4 separate regions of the Homo sapiens genome follow, and regions 1, 2 and 4 are each linked to region 3. Evidence: promoter capture Hi-C in 16 types of primary human blood cells and fetal thymus (Javierre and others, 2016). All regions are on one chromosome and are shown on one strand. Each heading gives the region's core, a stretch centred on a gene start or on the middle of the fragment in contact. The rest is flanking DNA. Distances are from core to core; before and after follow the strand shown. Region 1 overlaps PPP1R13B (protein phosphatase 1 regulatory subunit 13B). Region 2 overlaps PPP1R13B (protein phosphatase 1 regulatory subunit 13B). Region 3 holds the start of RD3L (RD3 like). Region 4 overlaps PPP1R13B (protein phosphatase 1 regulatory subunit 13B).

The links. Contacts are between HindIII fragments. The CHiCAGO score rates a contact against its expected background, and 5 or more counts as called.
Region 1: a contact is called between a fragment that was not itself captured here and the fragment with the promoter of RD3L in region 3, in 4 of 17 cell types (M2 macrophages, M1 macrophages, M0 macrophages and 1 more). The highest score is 14.7, in M2 macrophages.
Region 2: a contact is called between a fragment that was not itself captured here and the fragment with the promoter of RD3L in region 3, in 1 of 17 cell types (M2 macrophages). The highest score is 5.2, in M2 macrophages.
Region 4: a fragment that was not itself captured here is called in contact with the fragment with the promoter of RD3L in region 3 in 1 of 17 cell types (M2 macrophages); the score reaches 5.3 in M2 macrophages.

Annotation. Positions count from the first base shown.
Region 1 is chr14:103,808,647-103,813,487 of GRCh38, forward strand. The region is part of intron 1 of PPP1R13B (protein phosphatase 1 regulatory subunit 13B); the gene reads right to left. Among named protein-coding and RNA genes, the nearest start is that of PPP1R13B, 37 kb to the right of the region's middle. The HindIII fragment of the contact is 5,870 bases long and covers 1-4,841 here.
Region 2 is chr14:103,772,772-103,777,732 of GRCh38, forward strand. All of the region lies in intron 4 of PPP1R13B (protein phosphatase 1 regulatory subunit 13B), which reads right to left. Among named protein-coding and RNA genes, the nearest start is that of ZFYVE21, 59 kb to the left of the region's middle. The HindIII fragment of the contact is 398 bases long and covers 1,679-2,076 here.
Region 3 is chr14:103,938,940-103,943,879 of GRCh38, forward strand. It overlaps RD3L (RD3 like), which reads right to left and starts at 3,590. Exons shown (of 3, transcript NM_001257268.2): 1 at 3,153-3,590; 2 at 2,458-2,763; 3 at 1,487-2,164. The coding sequence starts at 2,756. The coding sequence ends at 1,867. The region is part of intron 1 of TDRD9 (tudor domain containing 9); the gene reads left to right. The HindIII fragment of the contact is 3,550 bases long and covers 3,146-4,940 here.
Region 4 is chr14:103,793,603-103,798,287 of GRCh38, forward strand. It overlaps PPP1R13B (protein phosphatase 1 regulatory subunit 13B), which reads right to left. Exons shown (of 17, transcript NM_015316.3): 2 at 3,769-3,916. LOC124900347 (small nucleolar RNA SNORD51) reads right to left here and starts at 3,746; the gene lies at 3,670-3,746. RefSeq lists enhancers at 1,046-1,547, 1,548-2,047. The HindIII fragment of the contact is 4,803 bases long and covers 1-3,702 here.

The DNA.
Region 1 (4,841 bases), core at 1,621-4,120, 130 kb before region 3:
GACACAAATTTTAGGGATGAAGAATTAACTCCAAGGAAAATAAAGGTACAGTTTAGTAAGATCATATTAAGTTCAATTTCCATAATTAGGGCTTGTATTATTTTGGAAAAGGAATAAAATTAACCTTAGAGCAATGAAAATTTTTTTCTAAATAAATAAGACTGTAGAAGTACATATTTAACCCTCTTACGAAGGCAGAGACAGCTATACACCCATTTTTTTTAATGTTTCTTTTTTTTAGAGACAGGATCTTGCTCTGCTGCCCAGGCTGAGCGCAGCAGCACCAATCCTAGCTCACTGCACCCTCGAACTCCTAGGCTCAAGTGATCCTCCCTCGCCTCAACTTTCAAGTAGCTGAGACTGTAAAAGCGCACCACAGCTAATTTTTTTTATTTTTTGTAGAGATGGGGTCTATGCCCAGGCTGGTCTCTAACTCCTGGGCTCAATTATCCTCCCGCCTTGGCCTCCCAAAGTGCTGGGATTACAGGCATGAGCCACCATGCTCAGCCTAGACATATTTAAATATCTGAGTAGCATCTACTCAAAGTTAAATAGCCACTACAATAGATCTCAATAACCTTATCAATTCTGTTGAGTTCTAATCACTGTTTTACTTGCGTTAATAATTTCACATTTTAAATTACATTATACAGTATTCCTGGGAATACAAAATAGACACCTTAGCTTCTATTTGCATTATTTACTTAGTATATAGTCCCTTCAGTATTTAAAAGCATAACGCATTTTGAGAGAACCTATCTTAAACCTTGTAGAAATGTGAAATTCATACAGCTTTCCATAATACCAAGATGTGTCATGACTACAGGATATAGAGGTGATACAGCTGACCACATTTATTCTATCCACTAAAACTTAAAGAATACTCTAGAATAGGTTGGGTGTGGCGGCTCACACCTGTATGCCAGCACTTTGGGAGGTTGAGGTGGGCAGGCTGCTCGAGCTCAGGAGCTCGAGATCAGCCTGGGCAACATGGCGAAACCCTATCTCTACAAAAAGCACAAAAAATTAGCCAGGCATGGTAGTATATGCCAGTAGTCCCAGACACGTGGGGGGCTGAGGCAGGGAGGATCACTTGAGCCCAGGAGGTCAAGGCTGCAGTGAGCTATGATCAAACCACTGCACTCCAGCCTGGGTGACAAAGTGAAACTCTTGTCTCAAAATTATTATTATTATTTTTGAGACAGAGTCTCGCTCTGTCGCCCAGGCTGGAGTGCAGTGGCACGATCTCGGCTCACTGCAACCTCTGCCTCCCGGGTTCAAGTGATTCTCCTGCCTCAGCCTCCCTAGTAGCTGGGACTAGAGGCATGCGCCACCATGCCTGGCTAATTTTTGTATTTTTAGTAGAGACGGGGTTTCACCATGTTGGCCAGATGGTCTTGATCTCTTGACCTTGTGATCTGCCCGCCTTGGCCTCCCAAAGTGCTGGAATTACAAGTGTGAGCCACCGCGCCCAGCTGTCTCAAAATTTTAAAAAGGCCAGGCGTGGAGGCTCATGCCTTTAATCCCAGCACTTTCGGAGGCTGAGGCAGGTGGATCATGAGGTCTGAAGTTCGAAACCAGCCTGGCCAACATGGTGAAACCCCATCTCTACCAAAAATACAAAAATTAGCCCGACGTGGTGGCACATGCCTATAATCCCGGCTACTCAGGAGGCTGAGACAGGAGAATCGTTTGAACCCAGGAGGCAGAGGTTGCAGTGAGCCAAGTGACAGAGTGAGACTTCCTCTCAAAAATAATAAAAAATTAAAATTAGAAAATAATACTCTAGAATAAAGAACAGTATCAATTCTGACACCACTGTTCATCAATATTGAAAATTACTTTGGCTGGGCGTGGTGGCTCATGCCTGTAATCCCAGCACTTTGGGAGGCCAAGGCAGGCGGATCATGAGGTCAGGAGATTAAGACCATCCTGGCTAACACAGTGAAACTCGTCTCTACTAAAAATACAAAACATTAGCTGGGCGTGGTGGTGGGCGCCTGTAGTCCCAGCTACTCGGGAGGCTGAGGCAGGAGTATGGCGTGACCCGGGAGGTGGCGCTTGCAGTGAGCCGAGATCGCACCACTGCACTCCAGCCTGGATGACAGAGCGAGACTCCATCTCAAAAAAGAAAAAAAAAAATTGAAAGTGACTGCTTGAGGCTAGGTGTGGTGGCTCGTGCTTGTAATCCCAGCACTTTGGGAAGCTGAGCCCGGTGGATCACTTGAGGTCAGGAGTTCAAGACCAGCCTGGGCAACATGGTGAAGCCCCGTCTCTACTAAAAAAAAAAAAAAAATTAGCCGGGCATGGCAGTGCGTGCCTGTAATTCCACCTAACTCAGGAGGCTGAAGCAGGAGAATTGCTTAAACCCGGGAGGCAGAGGTTGCAGTAAGCTGAGATTATGCCACACTGCACTCCAGCCTAGAGGACAGCGTGAGACTCCTCCTCAAAAAAAAAAAAAAAAAAAAAAAAAGACAAAGAAAATTACTGCTTGAAATAATGGTTGCTTTACTAATGTTGATCACGTGAATATTATGGAAGCAGAACAAACACTGAATTTTAAACCACAGACTATGACCTCTTAGTGGGCTCTAAAATCAATTAGTGCCTCAGGACCAGTTTTGTTTTTTAATGAACTAGAACAGAACAATATATAACAGTTATTAAGAGAATGAAAAGACAAGCCACAGACTGGGAGAAAATATCTGCAAAGTACATATTTGATAAAGGACTTGGCCAGGTGTGGTGGTTCACACCTATAATCCCAGCACTTCGGGATGTCTGTAATCCCAGCATTTTGGGAGGCTAAGATGGGTGGATCACTTGAGCCCAAGAGTTCGAGAACAGTCTGAACAACATAGGGAGACCCCATCTCTACAAAAAACACAAAAAGTAGCCAGGTGTAGTAGTGCAGGCCTGTAGTCCCAGCTTCTTGGGAGGCTGAGGTAGGAGGATTGCTTGAGCCCAGAAGGTCGAGGCTGCAGTGAGCTATGACTGTGCCACTGCACTCCAGCCTGGGCACAAGAGTGAGACCGTCACTAAATAAATAAATACATAAAGGACTTGTATCCTAAATACACAAATAACTCTTTTTTCTTTTTTGAGATGGAGTCTCGCTCTGTCACCCAGGCCGGGCGCAGTGGCTCACACCTGTAATCCCAGCACTTTGGGAGGCCAAGGCTGGCAGATCATGAGGTCAGGAGATCAAGATCATCCTGGCTAACATGGTGAAACCCCGTCTCTACTAAAAATACAAAAACAGCATTAGCCGGGTGTGGTGGTGGGCGCCTATAGTCCCAGCTACTTGGGAGGCTGAGGTGGGAGAATGGCGTGAACCTGGGAGGCGGAGCTTGCGGTGAGCTGAGATTGAGCCACTACACTCCACCCTGGGCGACAGAGCCAGACTCCCCCTCAAAAAAAAAAAAAAAAAAAAAACCTCAATAATCATAAAACAAGCTAATGTTTTTGTTTCTGTGTGTGGTTTTTTTTTTTTTTTTTTTCTAGACAGTCTCTGTCACCCAGGCTGGAATGCAGTGGCGCAATCTCAGCTCACTGTGACCTCTGCCTCCTGGGTTCAAGCGATTCTCCCGCCTCAGCCTCCCGAGTAGCTGGGACTACAGGTGCCTGCCCCCACACTCAGCTAATTTTTGTATATTTTTAGTAGAGATGGGGTTTCACCATATTGGCCAGGCTGGTCTCGAACTCCTTACATTGTGATCCGCCCACCTCGGCCTCCCAAAGTGCTGGGATTACAGGCGTGAGCCACCGCGTGTGGCTGTTTCTGTGTTTTTGAGACACAGTTTCACTCTGTCGCCCAGTCTGGAGTGCCGTGGCACAAGCTCAGCTCACTGCAACCTCTGCCTCCTGGGTTCGAGCGATTCTCGTGACTCAGCTTCCTGAGTAGCGGGGATTGGGGTGCCTGCCATCAGGCCCAGCCAATTTTTGTATCATTAGTAGAGATGGTGTTTCACCATGTTGGCCAGGCTGGTCTCGAACTCCTGACCTCAAATGATCCCCCTGCCTCAGCCAAGGTGCTAGGATTACACGCGTGAGCCACCGCACCTGGCCAAAACAACCTAATTTTTAATGGGCAAATGATCTGAACAGATACTTCACCAAAGATGACATACAAATGGAAAAATAAACATATGAAAAACATGTTCCGTATCATAGGTCATTTGGGAATTGCAAATTATTAATAAAACAACAGTGAAATACTACTACACACCTACTAGAATGGCCCAAATCCAAAGCATCGACAACACCTAACACTGGTGAGGATGCGGAGCAAAAGGAACTTGCAGTTGGGAATACAAAATGGTACAGCCATGTTGGAAGACAGTTTGGTGGCTTCTTAAAAAACTAAGCATACTTTTACCATGTGATCCAGCAATCCCACCACTTGGTCTTTACCCAAAGGAGTTGAAAATGTGTCCAGACAAAAACCTGCATGTGAATGTTTATGGCAGCTTTGTTCATAATTGCCAAAACTTGGAAGCAACCAAGATGTCCTTCAGTAGATGAATGGATAAACAAACTGTGGTACATAATACTGCTGGAATATTATTCAGTTATTCAGCAATGTTAAAAAAAAAAAGCACAAATCCAGAAGAGAGTCCCCACTGTACTTTCACGTCCCCACCGTACTTTCTGCTCCATCTTTCTGTATATCTAAAACTTCTATAAAAAATAAGACAGTACACTGCCCATGGAAAGGGTAAGATATGGTTTGGCTGTGCCCCACCCAAAAGCTCATCTTGAATTGTAATACCCATGTGTCAAGGGGAGAACCAGGTGGACATAATTGGATCATGGGGCGGTTTCTCCCATTTTGTTCTCGT
Region 2 (4,961 bases), core at 628-3,127, 170 kb before region 3:
AAGTGATTCTCCTGCCTCCCAAGTAGTTGGGATTACAGGCGTGCACAACCATGCTGGGCTAATTTTTGTATTTTTAGTAGAGACAGGGTTTCGCCATGTTGGCCAGGCTGGTCTCGAACTCCTGACTTCAAGTGATCCACCCGCCTCAGCCTCCCAAAGTGCTGGGATTACAGGCATGAGCCATTGAGCTCGGCCTATTTCTTTTTTGAATTGGGTTGTTTGTTTTCTTATTATTAAGCTTTGGGAGTTCTTTATATATTCTGCATCTGAATCCTTTATCAGGTACATGATTTGCTAGTATTTTTCCTAGACTATGTCATACCTTTCAAAATAATAATAATAAAAGCACCTTTTATGTATTAAATAGACAGACACAGCTGAAGACAAAATTCACTAACTGAAAGATGAATCTTAGGACAGTATCCAGAATATAGTACAAAGAGACCAAAAAAGAGAATATATAAAAAAGAAATTAAGAGACAAGGAGAATAAAATGAAAGATGAAGGTCTAATAAGAGTTCCAAAAGAAGAAAACAGAAAGAATGCAGAAGATAAAATACTTCTCGAGATAACAGAGAATGTTCCAGAGCTGTTGACAGATGCCAATCCTCAGAATCAGTAAATTCAACAAAGCCCAATAGGGAAATTAAAAGAAATTCACACCTGGCTCTGCTCACAAGGGAGGATTAATCCCAATTTCATTAAATCCCAAAACTCCACTAATTGACAGTAAAGGGATTTTTACATCAAATAATATAAAACCACAAAAGCGGGACTAACAGCAGTGCACACAACACAGATGTTTGGAAGTTGGCAAAAGAACAGACGAGAAATAACTGACCTAGTACATCTGAGACAAACCTCAAGCCAGAAGGAGTAAAACTGGATAAACACTCCAGTTACAGCACAGAATCTTCAAAGTTTCAGGAACTGACAACACCATGTACCTCTGGAAAGGGGAATAAAATGTAGGGACTGAAAATAAGGCAGACTGAGTGAACAATATTTAAGAGGCAGTTAAATCCCTATCTACTCCCCAACTCCATGCTCCTAGGTGACTGCCTCTATCCTCTCCTGGCATAAGTCTAAAAGTTTTTCTCTAGACAGTTGAAATGTTATCTGGCCTAGGAGATGATAGGCACAGTTGAGTCTTGGGCACCATATGGAAAACGGTGCCTGGGTGATTACATTAGCAATGAATGCTTCTGGAAATAAACATCACATTTATGGTCAATTGATCTGACAAAGGTGTCAGGCAATTCAGTGGGAGAGAGAATAGTCTTTTCACCAAATGGTGCTGGGATAACTGGATATTTACATGGAAAAGAATTAATTTGAATCCTTTAACTCACACTATACACAAAAATTAACTTAAAATTGATCATAGAACTACATGTAAGAGCTAAAACTATAAAGCTCTTAGAAGAAAACACAGGAGGGTAGGATCAATTGGTCTTGGCAACTTACTGGATATCCTAGAATAAAGCAAAAACTGACTCAGATTTTAAAACTGCTTGGCTGAGAAGACAGGAAAAAGTTCTTCCAGGACACCTAAGTCGAATGTGTCTTTCCTCTTTGCTGATCTGGCTCTGAATCCTTTCACTGTAGCAACTCAAGAGAACTCTATGCTTAGTCCTGAGTGGTCCTAGCAAACCACGGAACCTGGGGACATCTTGGAAGCTTCAACACAGGCATATATAATGAGAACAAATCAATTTGCCTTTATAGCATAATGACAAACCAGCACAGTAGTATTAACCTGACTTGCTGGCCTACAATTTTCAGAGAGCAGAACTTCCCCGGCTTCTTAGTTCAGCAGCTGCTGATGGACATCAATCACACCAACTCAGCATCCTGCCCTTCTCTTCCAACCCACACTCCCCCCTTTCTTCACAGCTCTCCTTAATCTATCCTTAGATGTCTCAGCCCAGAAGTTAGAAGGCTTATTAGCATGTCATTATTCTATAACCAAGGTATACACAGAAACATTTTGGGGGAAGATGTTTTTCATATCTTAAAATGCACGTAAAACCGCTCTGTAGACAATAAAGTGTTTTAGAAGGTAACGTATTATTAAGCTTAAAAGGTAGATGTGTAAGCCATAAAATACAGTAACATCTTTGATGTGATGCTTCCAATCCTAAATTATTCCTCTAGAGGAGCTCTCATACCTTCCTCTAATTACAAGCCACATAAAGGATAAAAACACATTTTTCACTTTGGTTTCAGGTTTCAATTTTGTTGATCTTGAAATATACACATTATCTCCTTATTAACAAGAAAAAACTTCATCAAGGAAAAGGTCTCATCACATCAAAACTGGTCTACCCAATTTATCATACATTTGGAATGCTTTCCTTTTGAGTCTCTTCCATATATTATATCATATACAACACACCTCACTTCTTCAACACACGGCCTACTCAATGTATCTATTTAATCTTCCCTGAAGTTCAGGTCATGGTAATTCTTTCTTCCTTTCTTTCTTTCACTTATTATTATTATTATTTTTTTTTTTTTGGAGACAGAGTCTCGCTCTGTCACCCAGGCTGGAGCGCAGTGGTGCAATCTCAGCTCACTGCAACCTCTGTCTCCTGGGTTCAGGCGATTCTCCTGCCTCAGCCTCCAGAACAGCTGGGATTACAGGCACCTGCCATCATGCCCAGCTAATTTTTGTATCTTTAGTAGAGAGAGGGTTTCACCATGTTGGCCAGATTGGTCTAGAACTCCTGACCTCAGGTGATCCGCCTACCTTGGCCTCCCAAAGTGCTGGGATTACAGGAGCTAGCCACCGCGCCCGTCCCATGGTAAATCTTAGAACTCAAAAAGATCTTCAACATTCTGTTGGACAAACAAGCTATAAATGCTTGCTAAAGTGTAACCTGGATGTTCCCAAGCTTGGCATGGCAACATAGTCACATGGGGAGTTTTCTAGGCCCCACTCCAGATTTACTGAATGAAAATTTCTACCAGTGGTGTGTGTGCGTCTATTTCTTAAGACGTCCTGAAGCAGATCCGCCTGGAAGAACTCTGTAGAGGCTCTTGATTTGCAGTGGACAAATCTCTACTCCAATGACAGAAGGCAGGAATGTGAAGAGGGAGAATCTATAATCTTAACAACAGGAATATTTCTCCCTGAGTGGCAGAAGGATTATGATATTGAAACCAAAGAGAAGAAAATATAATCTAGTATACCACATGGCTCTGCAGTGGATAATACCTGCAAAATCTAAAATAATGAAACTGCTAAATGGTTTTCAACTTTATAACCAATCTACAGACAAAGCAAAAAAGGTTTATAGTTAGATAACAATATACAAATATTGTCAACCTTTACAACATGAAAGTCTGGTACAGCTGCAAGAGCTGGAAGGAAGGAAGGAAGGGAGGAAGGGAAGGAGGGAGGGAGGGAGGGAGGAAGGAAGGAAGGAAGGAAGGAAGGAAGGAAGGAAGGAAGGAAGGAAGGAAAGATGGCAGGGGCCTAATATTATCATTTTACAAAGAGCAAGGTCCAGAGATACTGTTTAAAGTTGATAGTACAAATAAACAGAGATTTAAGTATATGAGGTAGGGTCACAAATATAGCCAATAAAAGAACTAGCAATTCAATAATAAGTTGGGAAGTAGAGAGGTGAAATAACTTGCTCAAATTCAGCTCATTAGAAAGCTCCGAGGCCAGTGGGCTAAACATGGGCCAGTCACACTCTAGATTCCATGCACTTTACCAGTATCTCACCATGCCCAGCCCTGTGTGAGGAAGGAACTTGCCTAAGCTTAGATGCCTAGTTAGTGTTACAGCCAGAAAAAGAAACTCAATCAGGCTGGGCGCGATGGCTCACGCCTGTAATCCCAGAACTTTGGGAGGCCAAGGTGGGCGGATCACAAGGTCAGGAGATTGAGACCATCTTGGCTAACACGGTGAAACCCCATCTCTATTAAAAATACAAAAAATTAGCCGGGCGTGGCGGTGTGCGCCTGTAGTCCCAGCTGCTGGGGAGGCTGAGGCAGGAGAATGGCTTGAATCCGGGAGGCGGAGCTTGCAGTGAGCCCAGATCAGGCCACTGCACTCCAGCCTGGGCGACAGAGTGAGACTCTGCCTCAAAAAAAAAAAAAAGAAACTCAATCTCTAGTCTTAAAATTACTTGTTACAGTTATCTTCAAATTTTCAGAAAAGACCACATTAAAAATGTCCCTATTTGGTTCATTCTTTCAACATACACCAACATTTCGGCTTTTTTTGAGATGGAGTCTCACTCTCTTGCCCAGGCTGGAGTGCAGTGGCACGATCTCGGCTCATTGCAACCTCTGCCTCCTGGGTTCATGTGATTCTCCTGTCTCAGCCTCCTGAGTAGCTGGGACTACAGGCGCATGCCACCACGACCAGCTAATTTTTGTATTTTTAGTAGAGATAGGGTTTCACCATATTGGTCAGACTGGTCTCGAACTCCTGACCTCAGGTGATCCACCGACCTTGGCCTCCCAAAGTGCCAGGATTACAGGTGTGAGCCACCACGCCCAGCCAACACCAACATTTCTTACAAAGAGCTCCTCCACAGCTCCCCTCACCTATGATAAGCATTCCATCTATTCTCCAAGTCTATACCACAATGATGGAGGAAGACACTGCAGCCCACCATCCATTGTGTCTGTCAAAACCTGACAGAGGATCCAGAACCAACACTGAAGATGCAAAGCAAGTCAGCCTACTCAACTCTTAGTCTACAAGCTAAGCCCATAGCCCATCTGCCGCCACAGAGATGCTGTGTTTACGTGCACAGAGGCACCCACTGCCTGCTCCAGGAGAGGACATGGCAGCAGCATGTGAAGGGCAGGTGGAGGGCTGCTCCAAAGGAGACATGATCTGATTCATGGACCATTATGTGAATAGGTAACACCACTCAGTGACTGCTGCTTTATAATTTCATATAATATTTTGAAATATTCAATAGAAATGACAATAT
Region 3 (4,940 bases), core at 2,340-4,839:
AACAAAGTGAGAGATGGAAACTCAAAACTTAATATATTTTTCCTTTCTTTTTTCAAGCTTGGGTGGAAAATTAATTAATTGCATGTGGGTGACTTAGAGTGGCTAGGATTCGTTTTCATCCTGAACTGTCCATAGCTGCTTCAGTCACCAGAAGCTTTTTGCCGGGAGTTATTTCTCCCTGTCTGAATACAGAGGATGACCCTCTCTTGGAAGTGGTATGGTGTTGTCCAGTGGCTGCTTGAGGAGCCTTGGAGAGTGAAGGAAATGATTTGCATCTCTTCATGGCATATATTTCCTGGTATGTATGGTGGGATGACCAATTCTAGTACCGGGCTTCATATACAAACTTCACGTTCTCCTTGTTTCTTTAAATGAAAATTTTGTTCTCACCATTAAGGCACTGATATTTTCTTAAAACTCACGTTTGCTACTTACTGTATTCACTGCACAATAAGCAGTTGTGTACTTTTCGGGGCATTTATCTCTCCCACACACAGTTTCCACTCTAGGAAATCTTACAGTGACTGAAGAAGCCAAAGGTAGTATGTAGGAAAACTGAAAATCTCAGAGCAGGAATGAGAGGTGTCTTTATTTTAAATCTGCTTGGGACTGTGTTTGTCCTGTTAAACCCTGATCAGGTGGGTTGCATTACGTGATTGGGATTTAAGACCAAATAGAGGTCAGTTGAAAATGGTACACAAGTTGGCCAAGAACGCAGGGAGAATAAAGTTAGGAGGGTTTTTTTTTTTTTTTTTTTTTTTTTTTGTGGTGTATATTTAGTTCTAGTCTTTTTGAAAAAAAGTGTTTTTTTTTTTTTTTTTTTTTGAGACAAGGTCTTTCTCTGTTGCCCAGATTGGAGTGCAGTGGTGTGATCATAGCTCACTGCAGCCTTTAACTCCTGGGCTCCAGTGAGCTTCCTGCTTCAACCTCCTGAGTAGCTGGGACTACAGGTATGTGCCACCACACCCAGCTAGTTCCAATTTTGATACGTATATTTTTTTCTTTTTAGATGAAAGAAAACCAGTAAATCTTCAAATATAAAGTTATAATTAGGTTCCTTGGACTTAACTTTAAGAATGAATTGTATCACTTTATAAAAAAAATCTGACTAATGTATAATTTCCTACTTTTAATAAAGTTATGAAAAGCCAGATTTTGTATATTAAATATTTTGCTATTTCACCAGAGTATAAGTTTAAATTATTCACCAACAGTGAATGTTTTTCTTTGAGAGTAGCAGCTACTCATGTTGCTAAATCAGTCTATTTATCTTTACTGATAGAGCTGAGTTTTATTACACGTTCCCTTAATGTTGAGCTTAAAAGTACTGTGATTAAAACCAAAGCTGAGCGTTGGGTTAAAGCCCTGCTTCATTTTTAAACTGCATGATATTTTTTCCCTCACCGCCCTTCTCCCCATCCCCTGCTGAGAATGATCGTATAATGGGATGTTGACTTCTCATTTCTGTTATGTTGTAAAGATAGGATTCGTATTAATAATTTATTTAATTCTATATGTAGCTTCATTGTAGAATAAAAGTCAAGGTTAATATCTAAGTTTTGTACAGAATTTGTCAGACTTCATACTAAAGTTGCTTTAGTTCCTGTGAGGTGGGTTTGAGGTATAAGAAAATACTGCAAACATTTTTTCAAAATACTTAGGAAACATTTTAGTTAAAAGCATACTATTCAATGAAAACATAGCATGTTTAGAGTGGTTAAAAAAAGAACACTATTTAAAACATAGGCTACATCCACAGGATACTGACCTTGTAACAAAGAAAAACTTGAAGTCACATCACTTTTTCTTATTCTTAATATTAGGAGTTCTAAGGTGTTCATAAAAACCCCTCTAGTTGTAAGTAACTTAACTAGATGGGTGATAATATGGTAGGTTCCATATTCTGTGTGAGAACACTGGGAACCTGTCCTTTGTGTTTTTGTCTACGTAACTGGAAATGGTGGGTATTTCATCTTTGTCTGCCCTCTTGGAGCTGTCACCTTGGATCACAGAAGGAGCAGAGCAGTCCATGCTCCCTGAGTCCTCCAGGTCCTCTTGCTCACTCCCTCTGTCAGAGCTGCTTAGGAAGTCTTTCAGAACTTGCTTGAAGATGTAGACTATTTCCCATGGCAGTACATCATTTTCTGCCAAAACTTCTCGAAATCTAGAGGGGAAATGGTAATGAATATTCAGTTTAGAACATTTTTTGTTATATCTCTTTATCTCCAAAATACAGCTTGAATAATGTATACAAGTTACCCACCTTTTGAGTATTTTGCATGTTGTTTTAAAATTATGCTTCTAGTAAAGAAATTTTAAATGTAATTTAAAACAATTGCTCACCAGACATCTACACAGTTAAAGAATTTACATGATAGAATACAGTTTCTAGTCAAAATATATGAGGAACTTGGACTTAGCAGTAGCAGGAATCATAAGAGAACATAGTATTTTTACCTGCTGAGAATAGTTCCAGTTTGGCAAGGTTGAACTTGTGAGCAAAGAACTTCAAGTTGTCTTTGTTCAGTCACTGGGATAGTTGTGTGGGGATTCTGGTAGTTTCTGAGCCAGTTGTAATCCACACCTGTTTTTTTCACTTTTTGTTCATTTTCGATTTCTTGTATTAATCTCTCTCGCTCCTTTAGGTGCCATTTTAATTCCCGAAGCAGAGTCTTTGTCACTATGTCTGAGCCAGGATAGTGTGTGGGTTTGTAGGAATCGTTTTTGGGCCATTTCATCCAGCCAAAAAGTGGCATTTTTAGCCTATGGAAATATTTTCACTTGTTTATTTGCTCAAAATGTTATGTTCTTCTGAGCAAATATTTGTTTCTTTACAATAAATTTGCCCGAAAAGTGCACGATTTTTTTTCACATTTAGCTATGCAGGTCAAAATAAGATTAGAACATGGATTAACGTCTTAATTTTTAACTAGGTCAGTGGCAGAAACCAAGCTTTGAAAATGCTTTTATGTAGCTTAGCAGAAATTAGATATACAAAGTCAGAGATAACATATAGACTGAATGATATCCGAAAATAACACTAACACTTGCTGTGAAAAGTTCTTAAGAGACTTAAAATATTAATGTCGGGGCAAGTGCTGCCTACAGATACTTTTGATTTATGTTTTGGACAGAAAAGGTTTAAAGCTTACCTGTTAAGTTGATGGGCTGATGTGATGTTGCCAAAGAGTTGACTGAAGTTGGTGACGAAGCTGTGTTTCACTGGGACGTATCTTGCTCTCCTAGGTGTGTCCTCTGTAGAAGGAATGCGCCACCTTATTTACCCACCGAAACTGTATTTGAAATAAATAACTTTCTGTGTTAGGAATGAGGCTGTGATGTCTTCATTTGGAGAGAATGCTCATTAATTCACCTTGTAAGTAAGCTAGAAGAAATGACAAAAATAACTGACTATTTAATCTTCACAAGTTATATAATGGTCTGCCTTTTCAATGTAGCTCAGTCTATTTGAAAAAAATGCCAGCAGCTATAGATGCTGGTCCTAAATGCATTCCGACATGTCTTTGGTAGTGAAACGAAGAATGGTCGTCTAAAGCACCATAGATGCGCTCCGAGCTAGAGTGAAGACTGTCGCGTGATGTGATGCTTTGCTGTGCATAGCTGTAGGTCACAGTTTAGTGCTGTATTTTTATGCCTGTAGAGCTCTAAAAATAGCCACGTTGCTTTTATTCTTCAGCTTAACTTTCAGGCCATTTGGAAGCCGGGTCACTGTCCCCTCTAGTGAAAACAGGAAAAATAGATTAGACTTGACTATTTGCAAAACATACATTCTGAGAAAACTCATTGTAATTGAGTGAAATAGGTAAAGAATGCTGATGTGAATTATAATTGTGAAATATTTAGCAAATGTTACATTTTGTATTCATTTTGGTTTTTTCAAAATAGTTAAATTTGTATATTTAAGCAAGTTGAAATGCTAGGGGACATAATAAACAGCTAGATAACTTTAAAATATACTTTATAATCTCTGAAAATATGGTAATAAGGCAGTAATTGGTTGTCAGGGAAAAATAGAGGCATAAGAACATACAAAATTCTAAACAAAATCTTATAATTCATCGTAGAAAAATCATTTTCGTGTTTTTTTTTTGGAGCTGAGGATGAAAAACTTATATTTACTATTTAGGTGCATATTGGTTTGTAATGGTCATTATTGTGCTATTTCTTTTTTCTTTCTTTCTTTTTTTTGAGACAGAGTCACGTTGTGTCACCCAGGCTGTAGTGCAGTGGCATGATCACGGCTCACTGTAGCCTCGACCTCCTGGGCTCAAGTGATCCTCCCACCTCAGCCCCCTGAATAGCCAGGACCATAGGTGCATGCCACCACAGGTGCATGCTACGGCATGCCTGGCTAGTTTAAAAAAATATATACACACGCACATATGTACATACATATATGTTTTATATATGTACATATGTGTATGTATTTTATATATGTACATATATGTATATATACACATAAGTATATATACGCATATGTATATGTATTATATATGTATATATAAATATACACACATATATAATACACACATATATACACACACACATACATTTCTTTTTTTTTTTTTTTTGTAGAAATAAGGTCTCCCTGTGTTGCCCAGGCTGGTCCGTAAACTGGGCTCAAGTAATCCACCTGCCTCAGCCTCCCAAAGTGCTGGGATTACAGGCATGAGCCACTGCGCTGGCCTGTGCTAATTTCCTATGCAAGTGTTTGTCTTTTGCTAAAGAGTAGATAGTATAAAAGGTCTTTTACTCCCCAGTTCTCTGTGAAACGACTGCATAGTGGTTTTCCCTTTTATAGTATTTGTTTCTTCTGTTGCTTTTCCTTTCAAGTGAGCCATGAAGAGTAGACGTTGTTTACATCAGACTTGCATGTCATGCATGACCCAGAGTGACGTGTGTGGCCACCCTACAGCTCC
Region 4 (4,685 bases), core at 51-2,550, 150 kb before region 3:
TACCCTATACATATCATGTAATATAAAATATACCTAATTAGCATCTTGTATAATGGAAATCTATTATAAGACTTTTAGGAACTTTAAATAAGGTTAAAAAACCTCAAGTAGGAAACTTAACAAAAGATAAAAATGGAAGGTTTTATCTACCTTACTGACTGCCATTAGAACTGACACCTGTGTGGGGAAGGGAACCACACAGAGTAGCTAATGACCTGGCCAAATTAACAGACTGTTACAGGCTGAACTGTGTCCCCGCTAAATTCATCTGTTGTAGTCCTGACCTCAAGTACCTCGAAATTTAACTGTATTTGGAGACAGGACTTTTAAAGAGGCAAGAAGATAAAATGAAGAGATCAAAGTGGCCCCTAATCCAATATGACTAGTGTCCTTACAAGAGGGGGAGGTTTGTCCACAGACAGGCATGGAGGGAAGAAAAGAAAACCATCTACAAGTCAAAGAGAGAGAGAGTCTTCAGAATAAACCAAGCCTGCTGACACCTTCATCTCAGACTTCTGGCCTCCATCACTGTGAGAAAATAAATTACTGTTGTTTAAGCCACCCAGTCTGTGGCACTTTGTTACGGCAGCCTCAGCAAAATAATGCACAGATCCACAGTGAAACGGCTCTACTGGAAAGCACTGATAATTACTATTGAAGGATTCTATCTACGACATACTGATCATACTAATGTCAGCAGTTATGGGGGCAGTAATTTGTTTTTTGTTTTTTTTTTTTTTTGAGATGAAGTTTCACTCTTGTTGCCCAGGCTGGAGTGCAGTGGCACAATCTCGGCTCACTGCAACCTCCGCCTCCCAGGTTCAAGCGATTCTCCTGCCTCAGCCTCCCGAGTAGCAGGGATTACAGGTGCCCACCACCATGCCCAGCTAATTTTTTGTTTTTTTAGTAGAGACAGGGTTTCACCATGTTGGCCAGGCTGGTCTCAAACTCCTGACCTCAGGTGATCCACCCACCTCGGCCTCCCAAAGTGTTGAGATTACAAGAGTGAGCCACAGTGCCCGGCCAGGTGCAGTAAGTTTTATGTGAGGGTTCTCTGAAACCTAAAAAAAAAAAAATCTCTGTAAGGGTTCCTCTAGGTAAAAGGACTGAGAAAGGCTGTTACAGTGCTTGCCCTCTCCCTTTGATGGCATCCACTGGAAGTTACCTTCTCTTCTTCCTAGATCCAGCTTCGTTGGCCATTTTACTTACTAATCTGTGTTTACTAAGTGCCTTCTATGAACACTAGGCTGGACACTGGGGATATAATGGTGAACAACAGACAAGTTCCCGCCTTCAGGAATTTTAGTCCAACAAGATAGAGATAAAAACTACTACTACATTATGTTTGTTTGTTTTTTTTTGAGACAGTCTCGCTCTGTCGCCCAGGCTGGAGTGCAGTGGCACACTCTTGGCTCACTGCAACCTCCGCCTCCGGGTTTCAAGGGATTCTCCTGCCTCCCAAGAAGCTGGGACTATAGGCGTGTGCCACCATGCCTGGCTAATTTTTGTATTTTTAGTAGAGATGGGGTTTTGACGTGCTGGCCAGGCTGGTCTCCAACTCCTGGCTTCAAGTGATCCACCCGCCTTGGCCTCCTAAAGGGCTGGGATTAGAGGCAAGAGCCACCGTGCCCGACCTGTATCATGTTTTGATAAATACAACGACAGTATTAGAGCACAGGGACACTAACACCCTTTGAGATTCACGGAAGGGATGAGAGGCAAAGAATAAATAGATGTTAGCCAAGCTCCTAGGGATTGTTCTAGACAACGAAGGAGCATGTACAAAAGCCACGGTAAATGTACTGTGCTGTGACTCTGTGCTCCAGGGTGGTAGTCCTCATCCTTGAGGAGGTAAAACTAAGTTATGATTTGAGATGGGCTGGGAGACAAGGATGGCACCAACCGAGTGACTCGTATGAGAGAGACAAGCATTCTCAAGAGGCCATAGACCATTTAGGGCTATAATACTCGTGTAAAAATTTTATTCCCTTACAATGGGAAGGCAGATGAGGAATTAGAATTGATAACAAGTAACAGAGAACAAAAGTGCTAAGAGGCTAGAGAAGAAAAAAAACAAGGGAATGAATGATCAGGCTCTAACACTGCTCCCCTTAAAAACGTTAATTACAATTACTTAACTGCCTGCTTCCTGTAGCTGTCATTAGGCTAACAATTGAGGGCCTGTCCTTTTACTTCTAATTTAGTAATAGTCCAATGTTTATCAAAGTCAAGTTTCTCTCCATGTATCCTTAAAATTCTTTACTCTGAATTCTAAGTAAAAAGCACAAGACCTTGCAAAAAAATTGTAATTTATATACCCACAAGGGACTTGTATCTAGAATACATAAAGAACTTTTACAATTCAGTAACAAAAAGACAAATAACCCATTTTTAAAATGGGCAATGGGGTGGGGTGCAGTGGTTCACACCTGTAATCCCAGCACTTTGGGAGGCCCAGGCAGGTGGATCACTTGAGCCCAGGAGTTTGAGACCACCCTGGGCAACATGGCAAAACCCTGTTTCTACAAAAATTAGCCGGGCATGGTGGTGCATGCCTGTAGTCCCAGCTACACGAGAGGCTGAGGTGGGAGCACTGCTTGAGCCCAGAAGATAGAGGTTGCAGTGAGCCAGGATTGTGCCACTGTTCTCCAGCCTGGGCAACAGAGAAAGACACTGTCTCAAAAATAAATAAATAAATAAATAGGCAAAGGAACTGAATAGACATTTCTCCAGAGAAGATATAAAAATGGCCAATATACACATGAAAAGATTTTCACCATCATTAGTCATTAGGGAAATGCAAATCACAATCACAATAAGACATATCTTCACAACTACTAGGATGGCTAAACTCAAGCAGACAGTATCAAGTGTTGATGAGAATGTGCAGAAATTCTCCACATCGTATACTTCGTATACTGCTGCAGGGAATGTAAAATGAAGCAATTGCATTAGAAAACAGTCTGGTGGTTCTTGAAAAGGTTAAACACGAATTACCATATGACCCAGAGATTCCTAGGTTTATACTACTAAGAGATATGAAAATATATGTCCACACAAAAACTTGTACATTGTCAGGTGCGGTGGCTCATGCCTGTAATCCAAGCACTTTGGGAGGCCATGGTGGGTGGATTGCCTGAGCTCAGGAGTTCAAGACCAGCCTGGGCAACATGGTGAAACCCCGATTCTACTAAAAATACAAAAAATTAGCCAGGCGTGGTGGTGCGCGCCTATAGCCCCAGCTACTGGGAGGCGGAGGCACAAGAATCGTTTGAACCCAGGAGGCGGAGGTTGCAGTGAACCAAGAGCATGCCACTGCACTCCAGCCTGTGGGAGAGACCAAGACTCCATGTCAGAAAACAAAAAACAAAAACAAAAACAGTTTGTACATGAAAGTTCATAGGAGCATTATTCATAATAGCCAAAAAAAAAAAAAAGAGAGACAGCCCAAACATCTATCACTCTGGCCTGGGAGACAGAGTGAGATACTGTCTCAAAAAAAAAAAAAAAAGTATACAAAAAAGCATTTTGTAAAACTCAGTCCTGTGCAATATAATTACATTTATTTTAATTACTCAGTTCTTTATTACCACAGATAACTAAGAACTACAAGCAATATTTTCCATTTGATAAATACTAAATTATATGTACTTAGTTACTTTTTTTCCCCATCTTTATCAGAAAAAAAGCAAATCCAGCACAAGCTTAGCTAAAAGATGGTGATTTGATTTTATCAATGTAACAATCTTTACAGGACCTAATACATACCATTTCCCCTCCACACTTCAGCTAAATGGCAGCTGCCTTCTCCAGGTTCCTTGCAAAATTCTACAACATCTCGACAGGTTGTTTCCGGTGTTATAGGAACTTCTGTTAAAATCTGTTCATTGTTGCTCAAGAAAACAGTTAATATCATCTGTAAGACAAAAGAGTAAAGCTGTAATTTAGATTCCTTATCACAAACAGATTAATCTGTAAATTTAAAGTGATCCCTCTACCCACCCCCCGCCCCCAAAATGCCTACAGAATTATTTTCTGGAAATAATAATAGATAAGCTGATTCTAAAGTTCATGTAGAAAGATGAAAAAGACAAGTCAGGAAAATTCCAAATGAGGAGAGTAATAGAAAAGAAAGAGCACTATCTTATAAAGTGCTCAAAACAACATGACAGCAGTAGATATATATATAGATCAATGGGGCAAAGTCATACCCCAGAAATAGACCCAATTACCTATGAAAAAAATGGCAAATGATGAGGGAGGTATCTCAAAAATCAAGGAGGGAAAACGACTATACAATGAGTGATGTTTGAGCAAAATATATCCATGTGGAAAAAATGGTTTCATACCATATATCGTACACTAGCAGAAGTTCCTAATAGATCAAATATTTAGATACAAACCCTAAAGCCATAAAAAGTCCAGAATAAAACCTGGGTATATTCCCTTTTATAGCTTTGGAATAAAGGTGCTGTTTCAAACTATGACTCAAAAATCAGACACTATTTTTAAAAAGACTGATATTCAAGTACATTAAATATAATAATCTCTTTTTTTTTTTTTTTTTGAGATGGAGTCTTGCTCTGTCGCCCAGGCTGGAGTGCAGTGGCGCGATCTCGGCTCACTGCAAGCTCTGCCTCCCGGGTTCATGCCATTCTCTTGCCTCAGCCTCCAGAGTAGCTGGG